Linked DNA regions of Homo sapiens: region 2 is linked to region 1. Evidence: promoter capture Hi-C in 16 types of primary human blood cells and fetal thymus (Javierre and others, 2016). All regions are on one chromosome and are shown on one strand. Each heading gives the region's core, a stretch centred on a gene start or on the middle of the fragment in contact. The rest is flanking DNA. Distances are from core to core; before and after follow the strand shown.

What was found. Contacts are between HindIII fragments. The CHiCAGO score rates a contact against its expected background, and 5 or more counts as called.
Region 2: a fragment that was not itself captured here is called in contact with the fragment with the promoter of HPS1 in region 1 in 1 of 17 cell types (M1 macrophages); the score reaches 6.2 in M1 macrophages.

What each region holds. Positions count from the first base shown.
Region 1 is chr10:98,443,501-98,449,128 of GRCh38, reverse strand. It overlaps HPS1 (HPS1 biogenesis of lysosomal organelles complex 3 subunit 1), which reads left to right and starts at 2,194. Exons shown (of 20, transcript NM_000195.5): 1 at 2,194-2,322; 2 at 3,725-3,829. HPS1-AS1 (HPS1 antisense RNA 1) reads right to left here and starts at 2,808. Exons shown (of 3, transcript NR_134454.1): 1 at 2,372-2,808. RefSeq lists a silencer at 2,027-2,376. The HindIII fragment of the contact is 10,907 bases long and covers 1-5,628 here.
Region 2 is chr10:99,356,162-99,361,789 of GRCh38, reverse strand. CNNM1 (cyclin and CBS domain divalent metal cation transport mediator 1) reads right to left here. Exons shown (of 11, transcript NM_020348.3): 2 at 4,135-4,278; 3 at 815-955. Among named protein-coding and RNA genes, the nearest start is that of CNNM1, 30 kb to the right of the region's middle. RefSeq lists enhancers at 2,494-3,160, 3,161-3,828. The HindIII fragment of the contact is 1,648 bases long and covers 1,808-3,455 here.

The DNA of each region.
Region 1 (5,628 bases), core at 945-3,444:
TTTCTCTTCTGGGTATATGCCCAAAAGAATTGAAAGCAGAGTCTCAAAGAGATATTTGTACACTCATGTTCATAATGGCCTTATTCACAATGGATGTAACCCAATTGTCCATCAGCAGATAAATGGATAAGCAAAATGTAGTATATACAGACTATAGAGTATTATTTAGGCTTAAAAATAAAGAAAAAAGGAAGGAATTCTCACATATGCTACAACATGAATGCACCTTGAGAATATTATGCTAAGTGAAATAAGCCAGTCATAAAAAGACAAATACTGTATGATTCTACTTATATGAGGTACTTAGAGTAGTCAAATTCATAGAGACAGAAAGTAACATTGTGGTTGCTATGAGGAGGAATGAAGAATTGTTGTTGTTGTTGTTTTTGTTGTTGTTTTTGAGATGGGAGTCTCGCTCCGTTGCCCAGGCTGGAGTGCAGTGGCATGATCTTGGCTCACTGCAACCTCTGCCTCCTTGGTACCAGCAATTCTCCTGACTCAGCCTCCTGAGTCACTGGGACTACAGCTGTGTGCCACCACACCCTGCTAATTTTGTATTTTTAGTAGAGACAGGGTTTCACCATGTTGGCTAGGGTGACCTCAAACTCCTGACTTTGTGATCCGCCCGCCTTGACCTCCCAAAGTGTTGGGATTACAGGTGTGAGCCACCACACCCGGCCAGCATTATTGCTTAATGGATATAGTTTCAGTTTTAAAAGATGAAAAGAGCTGTGGAGATGGATGGTGGTGATGGCTGCATAGCATTAGGAATGTAGTTAATACCACTGAACAATACACTTAAAATGCTTAATGATCAATTTTACATTATATGTATTTTACCACAAACAAATTTGAAAAAAAGAAACATGTTGACACAAAAAACCCGTACATAACTAAAAAATAGATTATATTGGATTACATAAAAATGTAAAACTTTGGTGCTACAAATGATACCACTAAGAAAGTGAAAAGACAAGCCACATAATGGGAAAAAAACTTTTGCAAATCAAGTATCTGATAAGGGGCTTGTAACCAGAGCATATAAAGAACTCTTACAACTCAATAATAAAGACAATTTAAAAATGGATAAAGGATTTGAATAGACATTTCTCCAGAGAAGGTACACAAATAGGCAAAAAGCACATGAAAAGATGCCGAACGTCAGGGAAGTGCAAATAAAATCACAAGACACCACTCCACGCTGGGTTACTATACTTAAAAAAAAAAAAATCAACAATAACAAGCATTGGTGAGGATGTGGAGAAATCAGAATCCTCATACATTGCAGTTGGGAAATGGAAATTACCAGTAGGGGAATGAATAAGTAAATAACAGCATATCCATTTGATGGAATTCATTCGACCACTGAAAGCATAGTGAGTGAACGATCTCAACGGTGGGCTGAGCAAAGAGATGCGTGTGGCAGGGCTATGTGCTGTAGATGGGGAGTTGGAAGAATTTGCCCTAAGGTGGGCTGGAAGGGGTGGGTAGTGGGTTGGGGGGAGTGATGCTCTCTTTGATCTGCAGGTGGTGGAAGTATTGATTCTTAGCCTCTGCCTTTCCCCCAAGAGATGCTCAATCTACTATATCCCCAGCCAGTTCTTGCAACCCATACCTTGCTGGGCTGGGCTCAAAGCTCCCAGGTGGCACCCAGGCACTGAGGGGTGGACTGTTCGGGGATTTAGGCCCTTCCAGAGCGCCCCCTCCACTTCCAGGCACCCCCAATACACATACGATTTTTTAAAATAAATATTGCAAACATAGGTTCAACACAAAACTCCTAATGTGCACTCCACTCCCAAAATAGATTGAGAACTCCTATAAATTCCAGCGTTGGCACTCTGGGGGCAACTGAGCCCTTCTGTGCGCTATGTCACCTCCCCAAAGGTCAGGGAGAGCAGTCACAAAAGGACAGCTCTAGCCCCAGAACTTCAGTTCATTAGGCAAAGCCTGAGGTTCCGGGGCATGGGGAGGAGAGAAGGGATCAGCTGAGGAGCCAGGAAACCTGGGTTCTGAGCCTGGTTCGGACCCTCAGCAAGTTATTTCTTCTCTCTGCGCCTCCGTTTCCTCTTCTGTAAAATGGGGCATGGGCAAGGCCTGGCAGGGGCGGGGCTCGAACCCGCGGAAGGCGACGGCGGCTCCGGCCCCTCCCGGGGCGGGCGGTCACGTGCGCGATCACGCGGTCCTACCCGGAAGCGCGCCCGGGCTCCTGCAGGCGGGGCGCTGTGCGCGCCGCGATCCGGTACGTGGGCCTCCGGGCTGTCCCCTCTGGGGGCGGCGATCCTCCCTCCGGAGCCCCCCTTCAACCCTCCCGGAAGTGAGGTAGGGTCCCTAGGGGTCCCGGAGCGGGCCCACTCCTAGCCTCACCCACTCCGGGCGTGTGGCCGTGGGCCGGTCGCTTCCTCGCTCGGGGCCAAAGTTCCTCAGCCGTGAAGAGGGGTGGATGTCACAAGTCAAGCCTCCTTCCCAGGGTGGCCGTGAGGTTCGGGGGTGGGGGGAGGTGGGGATTTGGGGTGAAACTGGACAGAAACTGGCGTGCTAGGCAAACGGGAGCCCCGCGGCGGCGAACTGCTGACTCGCTCTCTCCAGAGACTCAGGGGCAGGGCCGGGCTCCGAAGGTGTGGGACCCCAGAAGGAGCTGCTGAAGACGGGACCAAGGGCCACAGGGAGGTTTGCTGGGGTCCAGATGGTGAAAGTGGGCGCTGGGGGTCGCCCCAGGTTGGCCCCCCGCCATCTGGAGCTCCTTTCGTCAGTGAGTCCCCTCCGAGTTCCCTTTCTAGGGCAAGATAGCGAGGTGAAGCGGAAGTCTCAGTGTGACACCGGCGAGGTTCTCTTCCCAGCAGCCTTTGGGAAGCATCCCCCTGTTTCGGGAATATGGCATTCGGGCCAATCATGTGGGTGATGGAGCCCGTCTCAGGGTTCGGCTGCTAAAGGCCGAACTCGTAACAGCAGTCTCTGTGGCGGGTAGTCACTTGCCTCTTACTGGCTCACAGTGCTTGACTTCCTAATTAAGTTTTCTGTTGTTCCTGCCCTCTATTCAAATATGAATGATTCCGGAACCAGATTGATTAATCCTGTTATTTGAAGAAGGGAAGCTGGGAAATAGGAATAATGATCCCCACACCTATGTAAGAACGCAGTTTGCTAAGGTTACTTTGCAGCTTGCCTGGTCACTCCCATGATCTAACCCTGTAGGGAGGTAGAGTAGGGGATGTTGCTCTGTTTCTCCGCAGGAGTTTGAGGCTCAGAGAGGTTTATGGGACTTGGCAAAGCCAAAACTAGAACCTGGTCCCAGATGCCTTTCCTGTTAGTTTCCTTCCATTCATCGTATCATCCCAGGATCCCCACTCCCTTCACCGGGACTGCATCCTCACCACCTGGGATGTGCTATGCTGTCTCCCGTCAGTCACTCCTAGCAAGCTCCCTGGGGCTGCTTGGGGAGCTCTGAGTGACCCGCAGAAGTGAGAGCACTTCATGGGAACAAAGGAGGAAGGAACAAAAGTGGGCACCTGCTCTGTGCAAAGGGCTGTGCTGGCCGGGTTCCTATTCTCCATTATGGGAGGTGAGGGGCAGGATCCCAGATATGTTCTTAGCAGACTGCCTCAGGGCCTGGAGAGACCAGGGACCACGCAGCCCTTCTCCAGCTTGTCCTTTCTCAACGGGCAGCAGTCAAGACCAGGGCATCTGCCTGCCCTCATATTCTCTCTGTTTTAAGCATTTGCAGGACCAGGGATGCTGTGCTGCTCTCCCATGAGCCAGTCACCGAGTCGGTCTGCTGCAGCCCTTTCTGAACCTCTGGCCGTCTGGATGCTCCACTGTGCTTGCCAAGGTAGATGATCTTGCCCCACCTGGGGAGGACAGGGAGGCAGGCAGCATCCACCCTGGGGCTTTGGGAGGCAGATGGAATGAGGTAGGCAGTGGACTGAGTGCTACTGGGCTCTGCACACCTGCTCATCCCCTCCCCAGCCCTGCATCCTGAGGCCACCCCCATCCTGATGCCTCATCTCTCCTTCACCCCTCGAATCCAGGCAGGTCATCACAGCCTGCTGCATCTTTAAAGCTCCTCCCAGCCCCCACCAAGGGGTGAGCACTCATTACCTGACACCCGCACCTAGATGACCGCCTTCATGACCTTGACCTGCCCATCTCCAGCCAGCCGGTCACTTCTCCGCTCACAACCACAGCCTCCATTCCATAGCCCACTGCTCCCTAACCCATACACTCTGGTCAGCTTTGTCACATGTACCTGGGAGTCCCAGAGCAGCCTCTTCAGGTCCACCCGCCTCTCCCAGCAACCTCCTTTTCACACCTGTTGCACTCTCAGTGTCTGCCTTGGCATTGAGTAATTCTGTGGGAATAGGCTGCATTCCTTCTTCACTGTGCTGTTATGTCTCCTGGCATTTGCCATAAATACCTTGGGACCAGTTGCACCAAGTTAGTTTGGGAGGAATTCAGTAAGGACCACTAAGCTGGACATGGGGATGACGGAACACAAGACCTGGAGATGCTGTGATCCTCCCAAGAAAACTGGAAATCCACTTGTGTGAGAGTTACAGCAGAGCTTCCTAATCATTGTCATGGCTTAGCGCACATACCACATGATTATATCTGCGTGACACCCTGAGGCACATAAGAGGATTTGAAACCACTGCCTGAGGCCTCTTAGCTGCAGCAGCCAGCCTGGAGCACTGTCCTCACCAGCCTGGTCAGGCTGCCCCAAGTTTTAGAAGATCGAGGGTTTGCCGCACGCAGAGGGCCATGGCACACAGTGTGGGAAGCTGTATTAAAGATCTTCCAGTGGGTGAATAGTTAAGACATTTCTTACATAATCAAGCACAGAGTGTGTGGTGTGTGTGTGTGTGGCGGGGGGGTGGGGAAGGAGATTTGGGAGGGCTGAAGACACTGGTGGCTGTGGCCCTAGAAGCTGCAGCCTACTAGGTACAGGGGCTTTAGGCAGCCTCTGTTCTCACCATGAACAGGGAGAGCAGCATTTGAATGAAACTTCTGTGGTGCTGAAGTAAATTCAGGGGCTTTGAGGCTCATCTTCTGGAGCTGTTTTTTGTTTGTTTGTTTGTTTGTTTGTTTGTTTTTTCAGACAGAGTCTCGCTCTGTCACCCAGGCTGGAGTGCAGTGGTGTAATCTCGGCTCACTGCAACCTCTGCCTCCCGGGTTCAAGCAATTCTCCTGCCTCAGCAGTTATCCCGAGTAGCTGGGATAACAGGCACTTGCCACCATGCCTGGCTAATTTTTGTATTTTTAGTAGAGACGGGGTTTCACCATGTTGGCCAGGCTGGTCTCGAACTCCTGACTTCAGGTGATCCACCCCCCTTGGCCTCCCAAAGTGCTGGGATTACAGGCGTGAGCCACCGCGCCCAGCCCTGGAACTGTTTTTATCTGAGGGAGAGATATCTCTGGACTGCCCAGAGATGGAGGTGCACCAGTGCCCTCCGATCCACACCAGGCACTAACTGGCTGCCGTGAGCATGGCCTCCCTGGGCATTCGGCTCCATGTCTAGGCCAAGACCTGGGTCCCTTCCTGTGCCAGTCTGGTTCCAGTAGGCCCCGTGGTGGGTCTGTTGCTGTGCTGAGAGGGACCAGATACCACAGAGGAAAGGGCCCCAGCCTTGG
Region 2 (5,628 bases), core at 1,382-3,881, 910 kb before region 1:
AGGCAATTATTTAAATAATAAGTTGTCAATAATGTGAGGCATCATTGCATCATATTTATATATTACAGCTATTGCTTATATTACATATGTTAAACTTATATTACTTATATAACATAGGCTCTGGGAAGTAGTTAAAAGAAATCTGTACTCAGAACTAGAAATTCTATCTTAAAGCAGCTCCAACTTAAAATTTTCTACTCTTTAGCACCTAAAACAGTGCTAGCACTCATTACATACTCAATAAATATATGTTGGATTAATTAAATATTGAAGTTAGTGATAGATATGATCATTCTAGGTCAGCACATTAATTAGGCATGGATGGTCAGAGGGTTCAAAGACAAACTTTATCTTCTTCACAAGAAGGAGTTTATCTTTGGATTTTCTCACTTTTTTTTCTTTCTAAAGATCCCAAGATTCACAATACACTTCTGTATTTTAAAAATTCATAGCTCACAGGCTTCTGTGGCACTGCTCTAGGGCACTGCAAGTCTAACAGACAGGGAGATGGCCTCGGGCTTCAGCGAGGAAGTGAGTAGAAGAGGGAAAAGTGCAGCAATGGTTTCTTTAGCTCTTTTCTCTGGTAGAAGAGTTGAGTTATACTCATTTCTTCCTCTATGAGATCAGGCCTGGGGCTCAATACGACAGTAGGTGGCATCCATTACCCTGTCTAAGGCAACCTCCTTCCTAGAACAGTGCTTCTCAGTCCTGACAGCACACTGGAATCAGGCTGGAAGGTATTAACAACGATTGGTGCCTGGGTCCCACCCTAGAGATTCTGTTTTAGCTTCTCTGGAGTGGAGACTTGTCCTACCTGTGGCCATGAAGCGGTGTGTGGCTAGCAGAAGCTGTGGTGAGATCTTCACCCGCATCTCCGTGTCCGAAAGCTTAAACAAGGAGAAGTCATGCCGCTTCCGCTCCCGTTGCGGGACCCTCTGCTTTTTCCGATTGTCAGCTGTGGGGTCACAGAGGACAGATTACAGCTATCTCAGAATCACGTTGATCTTTGGAGGTTTTCCCAGAATCACAGGGGACAGATAGAACATTTCTGCAGTGTCAACTATGGGTGACATCACAATATCACCCAGGAAGTAGAAGGATGTTGGTGAGGGATAGACAATGGGAGACTGCCATCATTTCAGTGTTTTCCACACTTAGGGGGTGTATAGTAGAAAAAGGGGAAAGCAGGCTTGGGGTACCCAAGTCTGGGGTTCTGGGGCTGGTTCCCCTACTTACCATGTAATCTCTCTAAGCATTAGAGTTTTTATTTTAATCTGTACAAGGAGGCTAATAATATTTAATATAGCTCTCATACTCATCTTGTGCAATTAATTATGAGACTCCAACTGGAAACTACCTGTGAGAATGCTTTTACCCAAAGTCATACACACACAAGGGACCTGCATTCTTAGTATCAAGAGGGTTGCAGGGGCCCAGGGAATTTCTGACTCTGTCCCCCTCCTTTGCCCTGAACTGGCCTCACCTAGTCTCCTGCTGCTTATGTGAACCATGCTCTGAGTGGTACCTGAAGCATGCCACACAAGGAAGGAGGGCGGCCACCACCTCTTATTTCACAATTTCCCTGCTTCAACCCCAGTCCCTCCACTGGGAGGGAATCAGGGGAAATATAGGGAAGAAGAGAGGAGAAGAAATAAGATTGGACCTATAATCTCTAAAGGTGGGTTTTCTGGATGGGGGCCTCAGGCAGGGTCTGGTACCTCCCAAGAGCCTATGTATCAGGCATGTAATTATTGGTTGAAAACATTTGCTTTTTCCAATTTAATTTGTTCTCATTCTTTTTAAAGCTTGTCTAAATATATCTACTTCCCCCCCGGCCCCCGCTTTTTTTTTTGTTTTTTTTTTTTTGGTAGAGGAAATGTTTTCTTTGGTTCTTTCTCTTTTGCTTTCCCTGAGTTTTGAGTAAAATTTTGAAACTGCTAGCCCATCTTACCTGCACTAAGGGGAACAGGGAGAGGGATTTGGGTTTTCTCCAAACTTCGCCTAAAGAGAAACAGGGCTGTGGGGGAACGTCTGGTGCAAGCTGAGTGGATGCAGTGAGAATGAAAGGGAATGAACCCCTGTGGCAGGAAAATAAGGCCCCAGAATCCGGCTCCCTGGTGTGCCCCCTCTCCTTTTGGGGCCTGCTTTTGGGTTTCCTTCTAGAAGGGTCAAAGTGCCCTCCTGCCGGTGCAGCTCTTCCATGGCCCGCTCTGACTCTGGGCCTTCACAGTCATCTGGCCCCTGCTTTGACACTCCTTTTGCTCAAGTCACAATGGGCAGACCCAGACCCAGGTGTCCAGATCACGTAAGAGGTCAGGGTCATGCAAGAAGAAAGACAGTATCCCTGGCTTCTGGGCCTTTTCATAGCTCTTAGGGAATCATGCCAGCAGCTATTTATAGGTAGAAAGACCCTAACCTGCTCCTGTAGAAAGAGGATCACTCAGCAAAAGAGTAGCAAAATACAGGCTATTAGCCCAGCTCTTTCGCTCTCACTAGTGAGCAACTTTCTGATTTGTATGATAAGTTTGCCTAAATAGCCCCCCTCTCCCCCATCAGATTGCCACTTAACATGGCATTATTAGGAAATCATTCCTCTCATCGCCCCCTTCTCCTTAGATTTCAATAGTGTGTGTTGGAAGCCTTAAGGTTGTTCAAACAAGTGCCCTGGGAGGAGCTTACTCATTTAGACTATTATCAGTACCTAACACCTTAGTGTGAATGGCTTCACTAGTTTATCTGAGACACCTGGGATTTTTTTTTTTTTTTTTTTTTTTTTTTTTTTTTTGAGACAGTCTTGCCCTGTCACCCAGGCTCCCATGCTGGAGTGCTGTGGCACAATCTCCACTCACTGCAGCCAGGACCTCCCAGGCTCAAGTGATCCTCCCACCTTGGCCTCTCAAGTAGCTGGGACTACAGGCACACGTCACCACGCCTGGCTAACTGTTGTATTTTTTGTAGAGATGGGGTTTCACCATGTTGCCCAGGCTACACCTGAGAATTCTAAATCAAGAGTGGCAGGCAGAGGTGGGGGAGGGAGAGGACATTTCCGAGCTCGTTCCTCATGTGAGGAAGACACGCCTGGTCCGGGCAAGCACAGCAGTGCCCAGGCTCTTGGAGGGAGGTGCCATGACTCTCTTGCTTGTCTTTGCCAAGGCCTGGCCCACCTTTTAGAGTTGATCTCTTCTTTGTCTAAAAGGAAGGCACTCTTTCTGCACTGCTCACTGCCTTATGGTATCAAAGCTCTTTCTACCAGGAGCCAGTTTCTGAAAGGCCGCATCTCACAAACTAAGGACCAAAGTCTGAAACGAGTTATCTGCAAGGAAGAAAAGGATGGCTATTCCATGAGATGAAATTCTCAGGAGGAAACACTTCCCAGCCTAGGGACTCCCATGGACTTAGATAACATTCCAATCCTAAAGACAAAGCATGCCTTTGTAATGTTTGCAAGCAAAGCTTTGATAAGGTTCAGTAACCCAAAGTACTCACATCTGCATAGAAAAGTCTGTATTGTTCCTGAGTGAGGGAGTTAGGAGGGGCAGCAGACCAGAAAGAAGGAAGCAGAGACAAGAGCAGGGATGCTGGTGGCAGGGAGAGAACAGAAACCCAGGGTGGTGGGCTGAAAGGCAGAAGAGGACAGGGAAGTTTGTAAGAAGGAGTATTCAGTTTTTGGCTTAGGCTGTGAGTAGGCAATCTCATGACAGTCTCCACTGCTCACTGCGATGTTCTGATGTGAGTGGAACCCCTGTTGGGGTCTGCATCTAGGTGGATGAAGCAACCAAACAAGAACACAGGGGACAGAAACAAGGGCAGAGAGGCCTCTGGGCACCGTCCTGGGAACACTGTGTTTCCTGTAGTCCCGTTTCTATCCAAAGGCTGGGAGGTCTCCTTTTCATAGTCTTGGCTCAGTTCCTGAAGGTTCCCTCCTGATAAACACTTAGCTAGCATGTTCCCAGTGACTCAGAAGTGATTCCAACTAGGGTATCTTGCCACAGCAGCACCTGGCATAGGTGGCTGACACACATCAGGGCACAGGGTTTGCCCTGACACCCTTTCTATAAATCAAATGAGGCTTTACCTGAGAGTCTTGGAGGAAAATAAGATGACCCTGGAGAACAGCCAAGGCCGTGCACTTACTGTAGAGATCAGTTTCATCCAGGATCTCCGACTTGATAATCTCCTCTATGATATCCTCCAGCGTGACAATGCCCATCACCTCATAGAAAGGGTCCCCTTCTCCCTCATTATTCACCCGCTGGACAATGGCCAGGTGAGATTTTCCTAGAGAACAAATGAAATCACAGTTAAGTATCGGGGACATTTTCAGAGATCTTTTTTTGTGAGAAAAATGATACAAAGTTGCTGTCTGACCAATCTCAGGATTGCACTCATCCCTGGACCTCCTTAAAATATGAAGTTTTTATGCAAGCGCTTATAAATGCAAGGGCTTATAAATGCAAACCTTATTCTTCTAGATTTGTGTTTCTATTTAGGGAAGTTACTGAATATATTCAAAACCAGTTAGTTTTTTTTCTTTGAACTTTTACATATTAGCAAGTATATGTTAGCTGATATAATATATACTAATTGAAAGAGCAAGAATTTAGAGTCAGAATTATGGTAAAAGTCATTCTCCTCCCCTAAGCCCCCTTCCCCACTAACTATCCCAGTTACTATTCCTTGACAAATCATTTAATCTCCACTGAATTACCATCTCTCATCTAGAATCAGGAAATAATGCCAGTGTGGTGATTTTAAAACATGGCCTTTGTGGTATGCCTCCCACGGAGAGGTGTGATCTACAGCCCCTCCCCTTGAATCTGGGGGGGCTTGTGACTACTTCAACCAAAAGAGAATGGGAAATGAATGTTCATTATAGGACTTCTGAGGCCAGGTCATAAAGGCATGTAGCTTTTGCTGCAAGAACATTGTAAGAAGTCTGACTACTACCCTGAGGCCACCATAGTGGAGAGGCCACATGTAGGTGCTTAGGTGCCAGTCCCAGCTGAGCCCACCCTTCCAGGTTTCCCACCAAAGTGCCAGGCAGTTTGGCAGAAGAAGTGGTCTTGGAAGTGGATCTGCCAGTCTCAGCTGATCCAGCCCCTTGTCTCACTCACTCCCCAGCCTTTCTTTCTTCCCTCCCTCCCTCCTTTCTTTCTTTCTTTTCTTTTCTTTCTTTCTTTCTTTTCTTTCTTTCTTTCTTTCTTTCTTTCTTTCTTTCTTTCTTTCTGTCTGTCTGTCTGTCTGTCTGTCTTTCTTTCTTTCTTTCTCTCTTTCTCTTTCTCTCTCTCTCTCTCTCTCTCTCTTTCTTTCTTTCTGAGATGGAGTCTCTCTCTGTCGCCAGGCTGGAGTGCAATGGTGTGATCTCAGCTCACTGCAACCTCCGCCTTCCGGGTTCAAGTGATTCTCCTACCTCAGCCTCCCGAGTAGCTGGGACCACAGATGAGCACCACCACGCCCAGCTAATTTTTGTATGTTTAGTAGAGATGGGGTTTCACCATGTTGGCCAAGATGGTCTCGATCTCTTGACCTCATGGTCCATCTGCCTCGACCTCATGATCCACCTGCCTCGGCCTCCCAAAGTGCGGGGATTACAGGCATGAGCCACCTCGCCCAGCCTCTCCCCAGCCT